2 separate regions of the Homo sapiens genome follow, and region 1 is linked to region 2. The links are contacts of gene promoters, found by promoter capture Hi-C in blood cells and fetal thymus (Javierre and others, 2016). All regions are on one chromosome and are shown on one strand. Each heading gives the region's core, a stretch centred on a gene start or on the middle of the fragment in contact. The rest is flanking DNA. Distances are from core to core; before and after follow the strand shown.

Region 1 (3,555 bases), core at 68-2,567, 300 kb after region 2:
AGCAAACATAAAGCTGTTCAGGCAAAGAGGGGAAAGACGCAGGGGTCCCCAAAGCCCTTCTTCACTTTGTGTCCCCTTGCTGCGATCATGGAGAGTTAAAGAGGCTTCCTTGGGAGAAGAGCTCTGCCACCAGGGCTTCCCCAGTGTCTTTGGGGGTCTGTGAAAAAGAGGATCCTCTGAGGTTTACTGGGAGGGCTCAAGGCTGAGGGAATGGAGAGGAAAATTTTAGCAGTTCCATCCCAGTGTAAGGACCAACCCCAAAAGTTAAACTTGCACCACAGACTAAAGGTCAAGGGCATCCTGTGTTTCTCCCCTTTCTTCCCCAGAGTGACAAGGGCCAGTTCAGACTGACAGAAATCCAACAGCTTTCCTGAGCTGGAAATTTCAGAACAGTCTGCAAGTTACTCCCAGGTGACTGAAGGTCAAGGTGAGGCCCCCCTGCCTCTGCCTGCGAGTCTCCCCCGGTTTGCATTTTTCTTGACACCGGCATTTCCTGAGGTTGAGCTCTCTGGGGAGTTCTAGAGAATGGCTAGTAAGGCTTTTTGAGCTTGCACATCTCACCTGCCTTTCCTGTCTTTTGCCTGGGAAAGGAAAGTTATTTTCCCAGGTCAGCAAGGGGCAGAACATCGGCCAGCCCAGCCCAGAAGTACAGGGGGAGGTCATGGGCCCTGGGGCAGAACAATGGGAGACAATTCAAGGTGTGGTAACAACAACCAAGTTGCCCTCAGTCTGGGCAGAAACTGAACTCTACCCCTCTCCCACCCCAATCTTGCCCGCCATCCCACCAGATTCCAGACCTAAAGGGATCAAGGATGAGAGCGAAGGGAGAAGGGAGGGTCCCCAAGAAAACCGCACCCAAGCGAGCACTGTCTGAAGAGAAAAACTAGCTCCAGTTCTCCGAATTCTGGCAGAGCGTCTGGGAAGGCGATCAGTGCTTCTTTCCATGGCGCAAGGCCTGGGTTCTGGGTGTGCTTGAAGAAAGCCACTGGGGTGTGGGGTGACATCGCCATGGCTGAGAAGGGGCTAGGGGGTCCGGAGGGAAGGAGCCAGGACCGGAACTGCAAGGGCGTTGCTGCCCAGGGGTGTGGATGATTGCTCATGTCCAGCTCAGACCAGTTCAAGAAACTAACCTCCATTTATTTTCTTGGTGAGTCCTTTTTTTTTTTTTCAGACTGTTAACAGAAAAAAAATTTTAAAAAGCAGAAAACTGAAAAAAAAAATCCTGGTACATGAAATAAAGATTTTTTTTTTTTATAGCTTGGTCCTCACTTCAGTGAATTTCTTTAATTCCTTTCCCAACTCCTGGCATCCTATTTAAAACAATCCTAAAGCTACAGATTATTGGGGATGAGAGGTTTAGATGCTGTACAGTAGGGTGTCCCCCCACTCTCTAGATCATGAGTTCCCTATTAAATATCCTTTAGGGATACTTGCACGCCTCCAGTGACAGCGGGCTCACCCCCTCCAAAGATAGCACCAGCCAGTGCTAAGCAGCACTCTTTGGCAAAAGTCTTCTCTGCACACTGAATTTTAATCCACCTCTTCCTTCACACTCCAACAACACTGAATAAATCCCTTCCCTTTTCAGCATGACAGCCCCTCAGATATTTGAAGACAGAGAGCATGACGTCCTTGAGTTTTATCTTTTAGAATAAAGCAGCCCCACTCAACATCCCAGTTACACTCCAGGGTTTCCATTTTCCCCCGTGAAATTGTGCAGTTTGGAATGGACATGACCCTACCAGTTTACTCAGGGGGCTCCCTGCAGAGGGGTGCTTCTCAGGAAGAGGAGAGCCATGGAGTGGCAGAAGAATGGGGAGGGTCCCTGGGACTCTCTTAACTTGAAGAGATGAGAAAGACAAGATGGAATGCTAACAGGAGGATTTGACCTTTGACATCAGAGAAAGGCCCCATTGGAAGGATGACCTGTCATGCCCCAAAACAGCTGTCTAAGATAACAGTGCTATCTAAGATGTGTTGGGGAAGCATACTCACTGTACAGCTCTCCTGGGGCTCCAGAGAAAGGAGATGGCAAGCAGATGACACCTACACACCGCACAGACCTAAGAGAAGGTAAGCCCTGTATGACGTGGCCCGGAAAAGTCTACTCTAGAAGGGTCCAATGTTCAAAACTCCCTGTTCAACTCAGCCTCAGTCTGCTGGGGCCACACCACCAAGCCCCCACCAATCTCAATTATCTCTCTCTCCAGGCTCACCCCTAACACTTGTGGGGTCCAGGGCAAGAGTAGAAAGGGAGGCTCACTCTCCATAACTTAAGTCTGAAGATTTAACAGCTGCACATCGAACTAACGACCTTAAAAAATGGTCTATCAGCCAGGCGAGGTGGCTCACCCCTGTAATCCCAGCACTTTGGGAGGCCGAGGAAGGTGGATCATGAGGTCAGGAGTTCAAGACCGGCCTGGCCGAGATGATGAAATCCCGTCTCTACTAAAAACACAAAAATTAGCCGAGCGTGGTGGTGGGCGCCTGCAATCCCAGCTACTCGGTAGACTGAGGCAGAGAATTGCTTGAACCCGGGAGGCAGAGGTTACAGTGAGCCGAGATCGCGCCACTGCACTCCAGCCTGGGTGACAGAGCGAGACTCTATCTCAAAAAAAATTAAAATAAAATATAAAATAAAATTTAAAAATATGGTCTATCCTCTGTCCTGGCAAATATGTCCTTGTGACAAACTAAAATGTTAGGTTTGAATTTAGAATTCTCAACCTCCTCTGCATTCTGCTCCTCAAAGTAGCAGCATGGGGCAAGCCCACCCTGGAACCCAAGACCACAGCTCCCTGCCCATGACCCACCCCTCCTCCTTTCCCACTTCCAGCTCCACTCAGCACGTTCAGGGCATCTCCCACAAAGTGGGCACACATCCCAGCCTGCACACCCAGCTTTCCCAAAACCACTGCTTAAGGCAGGAGGACATGGGTCCTCAGGAGGACAGATGGCAGCCAGCCCTGGAAGCCAGCACGGCAGGACTCTTGGAGCAGAAATTCTACAGCAGCAGGCATCAGACGAGTGTCTAGCAAAGGGTAGGGCTTGGGGTGAGCACATCGCCTTGGCCTGTGAATTCCTCACCATGTGGGAAAGGGCCTGGTCTGAGGAGGGCCAGGGCAGGGTCCCCTCTTGCTCTTGTTTAAGGCCAACACAGCCTCTCTCTGCCTTTTGAATGTAGATTTTAACACTCAGAGCGCAGTTTAAGGACCAACTCCCAGAGGGTCAGGTAGAGGCCACGGAGCTCAGAAGACCTCTCCCTTCACGGAAGTCACAGGTGGAGGCCAGCAAGGGCAAGCGATGTGTCCAGGCTTACACAGTGAATCGGCTTCAAGCAGGCACAAGGCCCAGGGCCTCCAGACCTTCCAGCATCCCTGGCCACCTGCCTCAGATGGAGGTTTGAAGCGTTCCTCCTTCCCCCTCTTCCATTCATGCTTCAGGCTTAGCAATTCCTCCTTGCAGTCATGCTGACTTCACCAAATCCAAAAACTTCAAAGCCTCTGCAGGGAGTGAGGGAAGGTGCTGCTGTGTTGGTGAGCGCCTAGACCTGCC
Region 2 (3,631 bases), core at 1-2,500:
TGTTCCCCGCGTAGGCACACACCAGCCTGGCCTGTCTCTGGTGACCCCCTGAGTGGCCTCCACGTAGGTAACAGAGGTCACCTGCTGTTCCAATCCAGGGGGTGCAGGGGCCAGGCTTTGCGTCCTCAGGGCCCCCGCAGCTTAGAGCTCAGACCTGGCTACTGAGGAAAAATTCTGAAAATGCTTCCCAAGCGACGAGGCTAGATGCTGGTGAGGCCGTGCTCCAAGCCCCAACCTTGCCAGTCACTCTCTGTGACCCTGAGTAAGTCTCTTATCCTCCCTGGGCCTCAGATTTCCAATCTGTACAATGGCAAGGTTGGACTAGAAGAATCTAAGACCTTTTCCGTCTCAAAGATCCACCCATTCATTCATTCATTTATTCATTCATTCAGCAACATTTATTGAGCCCTTGGTCCTGGTGCTCAATAGGGATGAGCTACCTCCTAGTGATACAGCAGCGATCAAAACGGACACAGCCTCGTGGAGCTTGCTTCTCATGGGGGAGCCAACGTTCAAGAAAAAATAATAAATGAGCATATAATATTATTCCTGTAATATAAGAACCAGGCAGAAAAGGGAAATAGGGCAAAGGGTCAGACAGCAATGAGGTAGGGGCTGTCAGGAAGGCTTCTTGGAGGAGGTGACATTTGAGGCAAGCCCTGATTAGCGGAAGAACAAGCCAGATTCTGTGAATTCTGTTTGCGCAGAAGATGGAAAGTCATTGCTGATCACCATGTGAAGCAAAGGGCCCCAGCCTGGGACCCAGGACACCTGCATTCCTCTCCAGACACTGCCGGTCACTCGTTGTGTGACCGTGGGCAAGTCACTCCCACTCTTGGAGCCTCAGTGTTCTCATTTGTGTCTGAGGGTGGTGAGCCACAGCTCAAAGTTTCGTTAAAGCAGTTCTGAGAGGTTGCATTTCTGAGTATTTGGGTTCTGACTCAACCCCAGCCTCTCATGTTGATCAGGGACTGCAGAAGGACTGGCCTTTGTCCCTAAGGCCTATGAGGAGCAGTGAGAAGGCCCGGGGGCGGCCACACCCCGGCACTCACCTCTCGGCCCGCAGCTGCTGGGCCACAGCCATGGTGGGCGATGGTCCCAGGGAGCAGGTGGAGAGTCTCGCCCAGCCAGTCCCAGGCTGAGTTCACCTCTCACTTCCTCCAGCCACCCTGCGTCTCGTCTCAGCCTGTGGTCCTGGGAGTCCCCAGGAGCTGCCTTTGGGGAGGCTCAGGCCTGCTTCTCTCCAGTCTGGCAGAGGCTCCTCCTCCAGGCTCTCTGGGCCTAGCCTGTGGCCCACACTTCCTCTTACCTCACCTCCCAGCTGCACAGAAATTGAGGAAGTGGACCCTCGGGTGCCAGGTTTGCAGGAATCCACTTCCTTGATGTCAGTCCTTGGCGCCAAGCCTCAGTTGGGTATCAGAAGCCTTGCTCCATCAGAGATGGGGTCCCAGCCATCAGGGTGTCTTGTGACCTTGAGGAGTCACTTATCCTCTGGCCCATCAAGCCCCACCTTTATTCTCTTACTGCCAAGCCTTTGCCCAAACTCTTCCCCAGGCCTAGAATGCTGGCCTCCATTTTCCTGTGATCTCTTAGGCCCAGAGTAAATGCCACCTCCTCCAGGAAGCCCTCCTGGTTCCTCTGGCCTCTGTCTTCCTAGAGTGTGAAGTTTGGTTTGCGCGCCCTGGCACTCTGGGATATCCTTTCCTCATCCTTAGATCTCCATGCCCAGCCAATCCTCTTTCACAGGGCTGCCAATCAGAGTGAGTTTCACCCTCCCTGCTTAAACTCTCCTGCCCCATCACCCTGTGCTCAGGATAAAGTCCAGAGTCCTTGCCCTGCCTGCCTCCAATGCCCCTGAGGCCCTGCAGCCTTCCCCAGCCTCTGCTCCTGAGCTCCCTTTTTCTCACTGGCCTCCTTTCCGTTTCTAGAATGTTCTAAGACGTCCGCCCCAAGGCCTATGCTCATGGTGTTCCCTCTGCTGGAAAAAGCTCTTCACTGCCTCCTTTGCATCTCAGCTTAGAAGCTACATCTTTAGCGAGGCCTTCCCTGACCACACACCCTAAATTAAGGCCCTCCCTACTACATTCTCTCACAGGTCCCTGCACGTCTACTGCAGAGCACTCATAACTATTGTCATCTCACATTTGTTTGTTTATCTGTATGTTTAATGACTGCCTCCTTGGCTAGCAGCGTGCCTGGCACATTGCAAGTGCTCAACCAATATTCAGTGAATGAATGAAACGCTGCCAGTCAGTGACTGCAGCTCCTAACAGGTATGGGTATTTGATTCTGAAGGGACTTCTCTGAGAAGAGGTCCACAGGAGTCATTGGCACAGCCACACCCAGTAACTCCCTGCCAGCTACACACGCTCACACACTCGTATTCATACATGCAGAGCAGAAAGTTGTTTTAAACTACTTTAAACATACAAGTCCCAGCTAAAAAAAACAAGAAAGCATAATTTTTAGGTAGGATCAAAGAGAGGGGTCAGGAATCTATACCAGGGGGAGAGGAACGTGGCCAACAGCCCATGGGAAAACCAAGATTGGATATGCATTGTTGGGCTGAGATTTTAATGCCAAATCTGGGACTAGGTACAGGCCACAGGTCCTGCTGTTAGCAGAAAGTCAAATCTGAGTTCTCAGTGTAAAGTGGGTGTCAGAACTGATTATGGGAACAGAGTTTCTCAGCCATCAGCCTAGAGTCACGGCAGGAGCTGAGGTCCTCTCACAGTCCATGGGTGGAACAAGGGACGTGTGTACCAGATCAGCCTCAAGCCTGCCCTCTGCACTGGTGTAAGGCCCCGATATAAGCTACCCACGTGGTGCAGAAATCCTAAGCTGAGGCATTATATAAAAACAGCTTGGAGTCAGTGACTCTGCAGGGCCTACTCTGTCAACTCACAGACCAAAACTACAAATCGTGAGCTGTGAAAGACAGCTCAGAGCCTCCACATCATGAAGAATTCACACCCAAAGAACTAGAAATAATACAAACAATAAGTCTGATGAGTTGCTGGTGTCTCGGGGCTCCCAGGCTAGAGGATGAAATGAAACACAGAGCAGGGTTATTAGTGCAGGTGTCTGTAAGTACCAACAGGTGCAAGCACACAGCCATAACTGAGGGAAGAGGAGGACATTGGCCTACAGTTGGTCAGGAAGGACAGGAAGTGGCAAAACAATTTTAGCAAGCAAGCATGATACAGAATTTGTAGGTGATTGTGTAAACTGTGTGTGTAGTATATGCCTATAGTTGGAAACACATATTTGTGTATAAACACATACAGCTCGCATAGGCAAGTGTAAGTGCATTTGTGTTGTGTCTATAAAAGACCATATAATGTGTATAGTGGTGGCATTGTGGCTGTGAGAGAATGTGTTTAGATGTTTAGGTTGCAGTCGGTGACAAATGAGTATAAACACAAGTACATTTATAATAGGTGAACTCAGGCAAGATAACATGTCCTTTTTGAACCTTTCTTCTTCACCAATCTGTGAAACAGTCTTGCCTAATGGAGTTGTAGTAGGAATTAATAGAAAACTGTATAAAAGTGCCTAGACACATGGACATTTCTTATTCCTTTTTTAATCGTTTTCAGTGTGTATATCTGTATGTGTGTGTTTCAGGTGG

Evidence for each region. The method cuts DNA at HindIII sites, captures the fragments that hold promoters and counts their contacts. A CHiCAGO score of 5 or more calls a contact.
Region 1: a contact is called between a fragment that was not itself captured here and the fragment with the promoter of NCF4 in region 2, in 1 of 17 cell types (endothelial precursors). The highest score is 7.8, in endothelial precursors.

The regions. Positions count from the first base shown.
Region 1 is chr22:36,558,570-36,562,124 of GRCh38, reverse strand. It overlaps CACNG2 (calcium voltage-gated channel auxiliary subunit gamma 2), which reads left to right. Exons shown (of 4, transcript NM_006078.5): 4 at 1-1,268. Among named protein-coding and RNA genes, the nearest start is that of EIF3D, 31 kb to the right of the region's middle. The HindIII fragment of the contact is 8,480 bases long and covers 1-3,555 here.
Region 2 is chr22:36,858,625-36,862,255 of GRCh38, reverse strand. NCF4 (neutrophil cytosolic factor 4) reads right to left here and starts at 1,250. Exons shown (of 10, transcript NM_000631.5): 1 at 1,053-1,250. The coding sequence starts at 1,084. The region is part of intron 1 of NCF4-AS1 (NCF4 antisense RNA 1); the gene reads left to right. The HindIII fragment of the contact is 9,996 bases long and covers 1-3,631 here.